Linked DNA regions of Homo sapiens: region 2 is linked to region 1. Evidence: promoter capture Hi-C in 16 types of primary human blood cells and fetal thymus (Javierre and others, 2016). All regions are on one chromosome and are shown on one strand. The core of a region is centred on a gene start or on the middle of the fragment in contact, and the rest is flanking DNA. Distances in the headings are between cores, read along the strand shown.

Evidence for each region. Contacts are between HindIII fragments. The CHiCAGO score rates a contact against its expected background, and 5 or more counts as called.
Region 2: a contact is called between a fragment that was not itself captured here and the fragment with the promoter of CD48 in region 1, in 4 of 17 cell types (non-activated CD4 T cells, activated CD4 T cells, total CD4 T cells and 1 more). The highest score is 6.6, in non-activated CD4 T cells.

What each region holds. Positions count from the first base shown.
Region 1 is chr1:160,707,763-160,714,103 of GRCh38, reverse strand. It overlaps CD48 (CD48 molecule), which reads left to right and starts at 2,282. Exons shown (of 4, transcript NM_001778.4): 1 at 2,282-2,422. The coding sequence starts at 2,341. RefSeq lists enhancers at 1,254-1,313, 1,854-2,033, 5,310-5,379. The HindIII fragment of the contact is 2,140 bases long and covers 768-2,907 here.
Region 2 is chr1:160,606,239-160,612,579 of GRCh38, reverse strand. SLAMF1 (signaling lymphocytic activation molecule family member 1) reads left to right here. Exons shown (of 7, transcript NM_003037.5): 6 at 1-92; 7 at 1,782-4,474. The coding sequence ends at 1,832. Among named protein-coding and RNA genes, the nearest start is that of CD84, 30 kb to the right of the region's middle. The HindIII fragment of the contact is 5,518 bases long and covers 1,203-6,341 here.

The sequences.
Region 1 (6,341 bases), core at 1,033-3,532:
CGTCCTGCCACTGACTGAGTGTGGATCCTATGGCTCAGGAGTTCAAGACTGGCCTGGGCAACATGGTGAGACCTCATCTCTACAAAAAATTTTAAAAAAATAGCCATGCATAGTGGTCACTGTACTCCAGACTGGGTGACAGAGTGGGAGCCTGTGCCCCCCTCCCCCCAAAAAAGAGAATGTAACATTAATTTACAGGGTCTCTTTTAAAAATCTAATACAATGTTATCTTTTCTTGCTGAAGGAGCAGGGTCGTATCCTAAGGTTAAATCAATTTATAGGAAAAATATAACACACAGTTCCAAAGTGTAACAATTTGACCAAGAGGAATTTGATTCTGGTGCTGTTTCAAATTTTATTTGCAGGGTTCTTTCTTTTCACTTTTATGTTTTTTTCCCTTTTATTTTTAGTTGACATATAATAATTATACATATTTATGGGATACAGAGTAATATTTTGATACATGTATTCAATGTGTGATGATCAAATCAAAGCAATTAGGATACCTATCACCTCAAACATTGATCATTTCTTTGTGTTGGGAACATTCCAAATCCTCTCTTCTAGCTTTTTGAACATATACATTAAATTATTCTTAACTGTATTCACTCCATAGTGCTACAGGATGCTGGAACTTATTCCTCTTCTCTAGCTGTAACTTTGTATCTATTAACCAACTTCTTCCCATCCTCCACTTCCCTCTACCCTTCCCAGCCTCTGATAACCACAATTTTACTCTCTACTTCTATGAGCTCATTTTTTAAGCTTCCATATATGATTGGGAACGTGGTTTTTTATCTTTCTGTGCATGACTTATTTCACTTAACATAATGTCCTTCAGGTTTGAGGACTGAGAAGAGCAGACATTTTATTGTTCATCTCCATGTTGAGAATCAGAAATGTCCCCAATTAAAAAGTGATTACAAATATGTTATATCAGGAACTGTGGCTTGCCTGTGGGTCCTGGGTGGGCAAATAACTAATTTACATTCAATAGGAATGAGCTTGAAATTTCCTAGACATGATATGATTTGGCTGTGTTCCCTTCCAAATCTCATCTTGAATTGTAGTTCCCATAATCCCCACATATCATGGGAGCAACCCAGTAGGAAGTAAGTTAATCATACGAGCAGTTACCATCATGCTGTTCTCGTGATAGTGAGTTCTCACTAGATCTGATGGTTTCATAAGGAAGGGGCTTTCCCCATTGCTGCTCAGTGCTTCTCTTTCCTGCCACCGTGTGAAGAAGGACGTATTGGCTTCCCCTTGCACCATGATTGTAGGTTTCCTGAGGCTTCCCAAGCCATGCTGAACTAGAAGTCAATTTAACCACTTTCCTGGCCAGGCACAGGCCCATGCCTATAATCCCAGCACTTTGGGAGGCTGAGGCAGGTGGATCACTTGAGGTCAGGAGTTCAAGACCAGCCGGGCCAACATGGTGAAACCCTACTAAAAATACAAAAATTAGCTGGGCATGGTGGTGCTTGCCTGTAATCCCAGCTATGTAGGAGGCTGAGGCAGGAGAGTTGCTTGAACCTGTCAGGTGGAGGTTGCAGTGAGCTGAGATTGCACTGCTGCACTCCAGTCTGGGCTACAGAGTGAGACTGCATCTCAAAAAAAAAAAAAACCAAAACAAACAAAACAAAACAAAACCCCTCTCTTTCCTTTATAAATTACCCAGTCTGGGGTATGTCTTTATTAGCAGTGTGAGAACAGACTAATACAGACTACAAGGGTGGGAAATCCATTCTTTTGGGCCAAGTAATCTTACTTTTTTTCTGATGTTCAGTGGATAGGCTGATGTCAAACTTCAAATAGTGAATTATCATAAAGGAAGAAGAGCAGAGGGTGGTGCTGGGGGTAAGATATGCAGCACAAAGGCTACGTGGGTCTGATTTCCCAGACTTCAGGCTCTGAATGACACCTACCCAGGCTTGACTGGGAAGCTCCTATGTCTTAGCCCCTGAATTAATCAGAGGGATTCCTGCCTGGGAACGAAAAGCAGACATTCTCTATCAGGGTCCCTTATTCTTTTCTGAGTACTGGCCCCCCTGAGAGTACAGTAGAAGCTATGAATCTTCCCCCTACAAAAAAGCACTCATGTACCTTCAAACAAAATTGTTCTCAGTTTCCGTGATGCTCTTAGATAAAAAAATTTACAAGACCTCCGGTTTCTGGTTTCTGGGGCCCCACACAAGTGTGCTGGGTGGAGAGAAAATCTCAGTGGTTTTTTTTTTTTTCTCTCTAACCCTGTTTGGTAAGTTCCGTTTTTAGCCCCGGCCTTTTTCTAGCCAGGCTCTCAACTGTCTCCTGCGTTGCTGGGAAGTTCTGGAAGGAAGCATGTGCTCCAGAGGTTGGGATTCGTGTCTGGCTCTGGAATTGCTACTGCTGCCTCTGTCACTCCTGGTGACCAGCATTCAAGGTACTTTCCACCAACTGTGTATCTGTGATTGTGCACTGAAGGCATGGTCAGTTGGGAAAGGGGAGACGGGATGTAGTTCAACCCTAGAAGCCAGATCTGGTGTCTGGAAAGCAGGTATTTCCATTCCAATAGCATGGCCATGGCATGGTTGGGGAGCCTTTCTTAGCACTGATGAATGGAGCTTCATCTCCTTTCCCACGGGGATGTGATCAAAACAGGAACCTGGGGAGCAAGAGAAGTAGGCTCCTCATATTTTGTCCCGTGGTTGGTGGTCCATGAAGTTGTGGAAAAGTGTTTGTTTTTTCATTTTGAATAAGAAGAAGCTCTACACTGACAGCTGCTGCATTTTATGCTCAGACACACTGTACTCCCTTAGGCATTCTTTGAGACCTCTGTATATGTGAGGTGTTGCATCCTGAGCCAAGGTAAATGATATTGTCATTGACCCAAAGAAAAGATAGATCAAAATTATAGGAAGAAAAGCTTGGAAAGGATTGCTGTCTGGGGTCTCTGAATGAGGGTCTGAGAAGAGGCTGGAAGTGCTTCAGCATCAAAGGAACCTTAACACATCTGATTGCTAAGAGTTAAGGTCCATTCCTCTGCCACAGCCTGTTCGGTCCCCGGTGTGTGACCAAGGGCTGAGCTAACTTTCCTTCTCCTGTTAGAGCTGCCTCACCCTCTTTCTTCATCCAGTACCTCTCTTCTTATGCCAGCTGAGAAACAGCAGTGAAACCTTTGACTTTCTTGCTATTCCCCCAAGTAAATACTCAAGTCTTTTTAATTTAAAGGGCTTTAATGCTCACCACTCTGAGTAAAACAGTAAAAATCAACAAACATGTGGTAGTCACACTGTGGCATAAAATGATGATAGTTTGTAACTTTTGGGGAGATGAGGTAGAATGTGTGGAGGATCGGTCTCTCACATATTCTACCTCTCAGGTAGAGTCCTTTGGTTCATGACTGTGTGAGTCTACGGCTATATAGGTTCTGTGGGCCTGACTCAATGCATAGGACATTGGTATGACCTTGGGATTGGGGGCTGATGTGAAGTATTCATCTAACTATTGGGAAAAGCAGGGTTGCCAATGAGAATTGGAATATTTTAGGACTTTCTCTAGGCATACTGAAAACATCCTGACAGTTGACCTTTCTCTGACTTCTTTTCTAGGCTTCATCTTGGTCATTTATTCTTCTTTGAAACAATCAGACCACACCTGATTATGTTATCCTTTGAATGGATAATATTGGTTTTGATGAGGTTAGTAAACCTGGGTTATAACACCCGGGCTATAACCTGGGTTAGTAAAATACAAATTAAGCACTTACTGTGTGTCAGACATTGTGCTAGGCCTTTTGCATACTTTTTCATTTAACTTTCATTAGAAAATAGTGAGGTGGCTATTATTATCTACATTTTTCAGATGAGAATACTGTCTTGCAGAGAGATTAAGAAATTCTCCTAAGGGCACACAGGTCTAACTTCCAAACCATTCTATTATGATTATACCTTTCCTAGACTAAGGCGAGGGAATCTTGGTGAAGGTCAATGTGTCTAAATCTCTTAATTTTACTGTTTGCCTTAAAAGAGGCGTTTTCTCTTACCTCTGGGCTTATGTACATGCCTTCTTTCCACCTAGATTTCTCTCCCTCCTGCCCTCTCCCTGCCTCTCTTTTAGGCTTCTGTTTTTATGTGACTTCTTCTTGGACTGTCTGCCTGTGACTGTGTTCTGAAGGCATGGTTAGATGGGAACCTCAGGCTCCAGATTATGGTTTGTGAATTGCTTGGTGGATCATCTGTTTCCTTGAACTTTTTGAGGACAGAAACCATGTGCAGTGTTGTGCTGCTGAACTTAGCACAGGCCTGGAGTGTGGCATGTGCTCAATAAATAATTGTTACACAAATGAATGAACAACTTCAAAAAACTTCCTTTTGGACTACACATCCATATCTTCCTGAGAAGTGCAAGTAGTTCTCTCCTCTGCCGTAAGGGATGCTTCTGTGGAAAACTTTGAGAAGCACTCTTAGCTCTCTTCTTCCTTCTCTCCTCAGACTTGGGTTTCTCAGTTCTTTGGTTTCAAGGCAATGATTTAGGGCATGCTCCACAACTACCCAATTCCCCATCTGTCCACAACACTTAGCAGGATGAAGTAGACAGAGTATTGTACTAGAAATGAGATGACCTAGTTCTATCTGGGTTCCATGCTGTGGAATTTTCAACAAGTCATTAAAGCTTCCTGAGCCTCAGCTTCCTCAGCTCCATAATGGGTATAATAATCTGTTCCTCATTTCTTCAAGGGGTTGCTATTAAGATCAAATAAAATAAAAAATGTGCAATTGCTTTGCAATTGTGACACATGCGGAATCCGATACAGATGAAAACCTGGGAAGAGCATCAGTAAATTCTTAAGCCCCAAGCAGTCTCCTGAGCCCAAGATCAGAACTTCTGTCTCTTAAACATCTTCTCTAGACTCTCCAGACACGTGTCTAAAACTTAAGTCATCATCTCTGTTTCCGCTATGTATTGCTATTTAACAAGCTGCCACAATACCGTGGCTTAAAATAATAACAATGATTTACTTTGCCCACAGATTTGGGGGAAGACTGTTCATCCTGTCTCACTTTCATGTGCTTTTCATGTGCTTGCAATCAGATCATGGTGTGGCCTAGAGTCATGCAAGGCTCTTCACTCACAGGGCTACTGCCTGAACAGAGGGAGGCTCAAAGTGCTGGGTGGCTAGTGCCACTCAGCAGAAGCCTCCCAGAGTTGGTGTCCCAAGAGAAATAGGCAAATGCTGCATGGTCTTTTCTAAGCTAGCTTTGCAGGTCACACTTCCGGTGTATTCCATTCATTGAAGCCATCACCGAGCCTACTCAATTTCAAGGTGAAGGGGCACAAAGTCCATCATTTGATGAGAGGACCATCAAAAAATTTACAGACTTAAAAAAAAATACTACAATCCTTCTTCCCCCAAACCTACTGCTCCTCCACTGTTCCCCACCTCTATAAATGACATCTCCACTTGTCTAGTTGCTCAGGCCAGAATTCTAGGAGTCATCCTTGCTTCTTTTCTCTCCCTTGCTTCTCATGCCCAATGAGTAAGTCCTGTTAATTCTACTTTCAAAAATATCTCTCAAATATGTCCAATTCCATCCAGCCCCATGCTACCTATCTCAGATCAAGCCACCATTTTCTCTTATCACCAATTTCCACAATGATCCACTATCCTAACTGCTCTATTTACTGCATTCTCTCTAGCTAACCTGTTCTCTACCCTGCTGTCGGTATACATTTTCTAAAATGGTTCTCTGTTTGCATCACTCTTCTGCTTAAAATCTTTAGTGGCCACTGTGGGAAATGAGAAAGCAGAAGCTGTGAGCCTAAAGTTCACATTTCATAATGAGCTCACTTGCTACCCTCCTTAGTCTATGTCCTAGCCAGTGAGCTACTTCCTACTCCGCAAATGAATTTCATTTTTGTGTTTCTGGGCGTTTGATTCTTTTTCCCTCTTGTTGGAATATTCACTACCCCCAGTCGTCATCTTTCCCTGGTTTCATCCCACTTAGGCTAATTCCTCGTACAGAAGCCATTCTCAACCCCCAAATTCAAGTGAGGTGCTCCCTTTTATATGCCCTCTAAGCATTCCGTATTTTCCTTTTCCTAACACTTATCACCAATAGCGAAATCATCTGATTAATTTTGTTGATTCACTGGAATGAAGCTCAAGGGAAGGAGCCACATCTATCTATTGCACCCTTACAGAGCCAAGCACATAGTAACTGCTTACTGCATAGTTATTCGATGAGTGAATACATGAGGAAGTTCATGTACGCATGTATGCATGGAGGGATGGGTGGATGGAGGGAGGGAGCAAAGGAAAGAAGGAAGGAATAAATTTTGAGTCATTGTTTCAGTCAAGC
Region 2 (6,341 bases), core at 2,712-5,211, 100 kb after region 1:
CTCTTCAGAAGAAACTTGACTCCTTCCCAGCTCAGGACCCTTGCACCACCATATATGTTGCTGCCACAGAGCCTGTCCCAGAGTCTGTCCAGGTGAGGCATCTCTCTGCCTACTCTCCGTAGAGAGGGAATACATGAAGGAGGGGAAAATGAGGAAGTTTTTTTTTTTTAAGGTGGGAAGAGGGAGAGGATCAGGGAAAATAGCTATTGGGCACTAGGCTTCATACCTAGGTGACAAAATACTGTGTATAACAAATCCTCATGACACAAGTTTACCTATGTAACAAACCAGCACATGTACGCCTGAACTTAAAATAAAAGTAAAAAAAAAAAAATTAAAACAAAAACAAATTAAATGAAACAGATTGATGAGTCCTGGACTGGGGAAGGGAGGCCACAGCATGCAGGCAAAAAGGAGTCTCTGTGGCTTTGGTTTTCCAGTTTCCATGAAGCCCCCAATACCTGCTCACACGGGGCCACTGCTAACCCCCTGCTGGCCAGTGTTTCCCTGAGAGTTGTCCAAGGACCACATCAGAATCAGCCAGCGTACTTGTTAAAAATAAAGATTCCTAGGGACTTCCACCTAGGATTCTGTTAAATGAAAATGTCTATGGAGAGTAGCCATAGACCTACGTATTTAAAAAACCCACACCCCAGGTAATTCTGATACACACTCAAGTTTAAGAACAGCAGCTGGAGTCCAGGAGTTCTCAACTCCAGCTACAAAACAGAATCACCAGGGAAGCATTGTAAAAATGCTCATGCCTAGACTCTGTGCAGCCCCATTTAATCAGAATATTTAGGGGTGGAGATCTGCATAGGTGTTAAGCCTAGAAGAGAATATGGGGTGCAGCTCAAAATGATACTTGCATATTCTACCCTATTGCAAGATCAGCAGGGACTAAGTTTACTTCGGACAGGAATCTTTCCTTTACTGAATGAATAGAAATAAATTCTGGGCTGAAATCTTTGCTCCATTTGGGCTCTTTCAGAAGAGAGCCCAGGATGATAGAGGCACAAAGGTCACACAAATGCCTGCATCCACCTTATTTTTCAAAGCTCCTACCGCACACACACTCATCCAGAAATGCCTGGGCAGGTGCCCTATATTTCAAGATGAAACCAATCTTCAACTTGAGGTCCATTCTCACTTCACTGTCATATCTAAGAAGGAAGTAAAAATATAAACCTGACTTCAAAGCTTCAAAAAAATACATAGATTTTTAATGAAGTTTACTTAAGGACAAAAACAGTATGCTATAGTTAACATTTTATGGCAAAACCCTTAAATTCTATTTTCTTTGTTTCTTTGACATGAGAGATCTTTGCGCATAACCCTCTTCTCCCCTTCCTCTCTCCTGCCAATACCACTTTTCTCTTCTCCCTTTGAGTCCCACTAGACTTTTTAAAAACTCAATAATTTACAACTCTCTTGGCTTCCCAGATTGTGACCCATATGTAACAGCAAAACAAATGGTTTTCCTTACAAGGGGATGGAAGGGGAGAGGGCAAAGAGGGAGACAGGGCACTGAGTGCTGGTCCTCAGATCATGCTCCCCATAATAGCATGCTTATGCTTGGAAGGGAGCTGTGGCCCTTGTTGCAGGTGGAGAAGCAGTGTGGGAACCCAAGTGCTGTCCCAGCAAGGCCCTGTCTGTGACAGACCCTGCACAAGCCATGATCTCTAAGACCCTTTCCTTTTCCTCAGCAGTGCTGTTTTCATTTGCATTCTGTGAAGTGAGTATCCAGTCCCTCTACTCACAGACTTCTGCTTTGTCCCCAGGAAACAAATTCCATCACAGTCTATGCTAGTGTGACACTTCCAGAGAGCTGACACCAGAGACCAACAAAGGGACTTTCTGAAGGAAAATGGAAAAACCAAAATGAACACTGAACTTGGCCACAGGCCCCAAGTTTCCTCTGGCAGACATGCTGCACGTCTGTACCCTTCTCAGATCAACTCCCTGGTGATGTTTCTTCCACATACATCTGTGAAATGAACAAGGAAGTGAGGCTTCCCAAGAATTTAGCTTGCTGTGCAGTGGCTGCAGGCGCAGAACAGAGCGTTACTTGATAACAGCGTTCCATCTTTGTGTTGTAGCAGATGAAATGGACAGTAATGTGAGTTCAGACTTTGGGCATCTTGCTCTTGGCTGGAACTGGATAATAAAAATCAGACTGAAAGCCAGGACATCTGAGTACCTATCTCACACACTGGACCACCAGTCACAAAGTCTGGAAAAGTTTACATTTTGGCTATCTTTACTTTGTTCTGGGAGCTGATCATGATAACCTGCAGACCTGATCAAGCCTCTGTGCCTCAGTTTCTCTCTCAGGATAAAGAGTGAATAGAGGCTGAAGGGTGAATTTCTTATTATACATAAAACACTCTGATATTATTGTATAAAGGAAGCTAAGAATATTATTTTATTTGCAAAACCCAGAAGCTAAAAAGTCAATAAACAGAAAGAATGATTTTGAGATCTCTGAGTTTTGAACAGTGGACTGGAAACCATGTAAGAGCCTTAAAAGTACAGTTCTGTGCAAATGGCATTCAGTTTTAAAGAAAAACGTAGCAAATGTTTGATGGTGCTGTTACAAAGGAGCTTGGAATACTCAGAGGAACTTGTCCCATGGTGATTTTTCACTTCTCAAAATGATGTTTAAATCCCAGTTCTCTGTTGATTCCCTTGAACAACAAACCTGGAACCTCAGCTAAGACTCTCTGTGACCAGATTCTGAACCTCTTATATCCAGGGCTTCAAGGGGTATTGCAGGTCAAGGTCTTTCCTAGGCACTTTCTACTCCCTGCATACCTCTCCTCACACTAAATTTATCCTCTAGTAGAAAATTAAGTTATTTTGGTCTAACAGCTTCAAATCTTTGAATGCTCAATAACTTATTTTGCAAGCTGCAGGCAGAAAGAGACTTTTTAAGTAAAGTCCTTTGTTTTTTCCTATTCTCTGCTTTTAGACAGGCTGTCCTCAATTTAAGCCCTGCTTTTTCTTATTGTTTCTTATATAAACTTGGTAAGTACTGTAAGAAACAGCCACTATCATACCATTGCATAATAAGGAGCACCAACTTCCCAGCTCAAAACTCAGGTCCTTATTGCCTTGTATCTTACCTCCTCTATGAGGTCAATTCACATTGTAAGCCTGTTGCTTAGTGCATCTCGTTTCCTGGTACCAGCTTCTTTAATAGAGTTCTTAGTTGCAATCAACAGAAGCTGGCTTTGGCTTTTTTATGTAGAAAAGGAACCTATTGAAAAGATACTGATTGGTTCCAATAACTGCTAGAAGTTTCTGCAAAACCATGCTTTGAAAGTGAGCAGGAAAAGAAGAGACTAGGCTGTGGCTGGGAGCACAGCCAAAATTACAAAACCAGCCCAGGGATGATGATCCTGTTCATGCACAGCCACTGTCCCCAGCACTAGGCACAGACTCTACCACTGCCTCACTGTCTCTGCTGGACTTGGAAACTTGATATTACTGTTACTGCTGCACTGTCTGCCATGAAAATGAATTCTCCAGGGTCCCTTCTTCATCCTTTCATCTCTAGCTTATAATTCAAAGTCTGGGATTGAGTGGCCAATCCTAGGTCACATGTCCATGTCCTATCTCCAAGGGGGGCTGGGAATTGAATATCTGGCATTTTCCACTTTCACTTCTTATGAATTAAGGAATTCTACAAATAATAGAAGTGGGATTCAGGTGGTAGGCAGACAAAAAAGCCTCACAATTATCCACTACGCCACCCTTGTATAACCTTACCCTCATTCACTGTCTACTCTCAAAACTGTGGAGCTACTAATGAAGATTTGTAAACCCGGGCTTATGAGCACCCATTCCTTTACTACAACTCAGATTGCTCTAGAAGCTCAGTTCCCAGCACTTGGATTTTTCCAGTAGCTGAATTCTACCTGAAGGAAGGGCAGAAACAAAGGGTGAAGAAGAGGCTATCACTTCCAAGTATCCTGCACCCCTGGGCTCAAGACCTCACTGGGGAGGGAGTCTTTTGGGCCACCCACCAAACAGCACTGGCATTATGCCTCTCACCCTAGACCATGGTTACACGTGGTAAAACAACCCCTTCTGGTGATACATTCACAACTCTCTAGTTTCCCCCAAATGGCACTATGGGGAGCGGGAGCTTGCCTTTTCCTCAGACTTAAAACAATAAGTTTTCCCCGTGTTTCCCCTCTAATGCTGTTTTCTTTTGACCAAGCATGTCTGAATTCTAGAGAAGTCAGGAGGAACACACCCATTCTCGGTTTGAAGGGACTGATGTTCTGAAGTACAACTGGGCACAGTCCCAGGCTCTTCAGGACGCTTCCTCCATTCACACAGCGGGGATGTGATTGTTACAGCGGGTGGTGTGTGCTGGCTGAGAAGCCACTGTGAATTGATTCTTCTTCTGAAGTTTATGTTTCTACTTTTTGGAAATGAATAAATTACAGCCAGTCCATCAAGGAAATTGCAATTTTGTCTTGTGTTTCCTAAAGGATTTATAACACAGTAATATGGCATGATGTGTTTCCTGGCCTTATGTCTCCATGCCATAGTTATGAAATGCTGAAGGAGGCAGATTTGATCAGATAGGATGTGAGGTTGTCCCTTTCCTGGAGGTGGACAAGGGTTAGCTTGGCATCCCCTTCACCAAAGGTCAGGAACCACCCTCCACATGGAGAACTGTGTTGAAAGGATTGTTTAATTTTTGTCACTGCCAGAGTAATTCCCTTCCCTGAACTCTGCCAAATTCCCCTTGTGGACAAAATCTAGAGCAGGGTTTCTCAACTGCCACACTATTGACATTTGGGGCTGGATAATTTTTTTGTCATGGGGCTGTCCTGTGCACTGTAGGGTGTTTAACAGCATCCCTGGCCTCGGCCCACTGGGTGTATGGCACATGCCCTGTCCTTGATTGTGACAATCAAGTGTCTCCAAACACTACCAAATGTCCCCTGCTTGGCAAAATCTCCCCCAGTTGAGAACCACTGATCTAGAGATATGCTGGCCCCCTGGTGAGCTCTGAGAAAACTAAATACGCTTCTATATACCAAGAAGTAGATCTGTCAAAGGTGGCCACCTGGTCACTTAAGCATGGCCCAAACCTGCCAGTGACACCCAAGTTTACCTAAATATTAGAATTACCCGGGAAACTTTTTAAAAAATAATGATGACCAAATCTAACCTGAAACCAAAATGAGATCTGGGTTGAGATTTATAGAACTACTTATACCACAGAAAGGATTTCGTGATGAGTTTCACACACCAGCCACAAGAGGGTGATATAGCAACACAATCCACCCAACCTTAGCATCCCCACCACTTCCTTGTATCTAAAGGATGTGGACTTAGTCACAGACTGGATGAAACTGTGTCTGGTTTCTCAGCTCTTACAGGCTGAAAGGAGATAAGGAGGCTAATGTGGATTGATGAAAGGCTCTAAAAGGTTAAGTGTACTAAGTTTATTTCACAGAAGACTTCTAGTTCTACTCAATGCTTCACTCATTCAACAAAGTTATTAAGTTCCTACTAAGTGTTTGGCTTGTCATCCAGCAGGAGATACAAAGAACACAGGCAATTGAAGTATTATAACAGGTAGATCACTATGTGATCTACTGAGAACCATTGGAAAATAAAAGAAGATGCTATTAATAATTACCCTGGGGCAGGGGATGGCAGCTAGGAGGCAGGACTAACTTGCAACTCTCACTCAGATGTGTGGAGACTCACATCATGAACTTTTGTTCCAAGAACCGCTGCAGGAACATACCAGGAAAACTGAAAGAATTCACCAGCCCTTTGAAAGAAGTGGCTTGCCACTGCAAACTCTGTGAAATAGCTGAAAAACTGTGAGTGCCTAAAGTGTGAGAGGGGGAAAGTCTACCTCTGAACACACATCTTCACTGGGGAAACCTGAAAATCCAAATAACAGGAGAAGAATTTAACTTTACCTAGAGCTGAAATGAATTTAGAGAGCCAAGCAAAATACAAAAGTAGAAGAAGCAGTGGGAAGAGCCCTACAGGCACTCCTGGTCCCCCAGGAAGTCCAGGGAAGTCATTTCTGACTTTATCTCACAGGGTTCCTTGGGGAGGGCTGCCAGTGGGATTGGGGAAGGGCCACAGGGAGAAGGAAACTTCCAGCTGAACTTTGTAATAATTTTGACTGAGTACGAATTGTCCTGGTCAGGATCTGTGGAGATGAATAGAAAGTGCAGATATGAGCACAGAAGCCACAGCAGGCAGGGAGGGGTGAGGCCTGAAAGCCCTGCTTGCCTTCTCAGCAGAGAGGCTAGTATCCCAGGGCAACATCCCAGCCCTGCATACCAGAGGCTTGG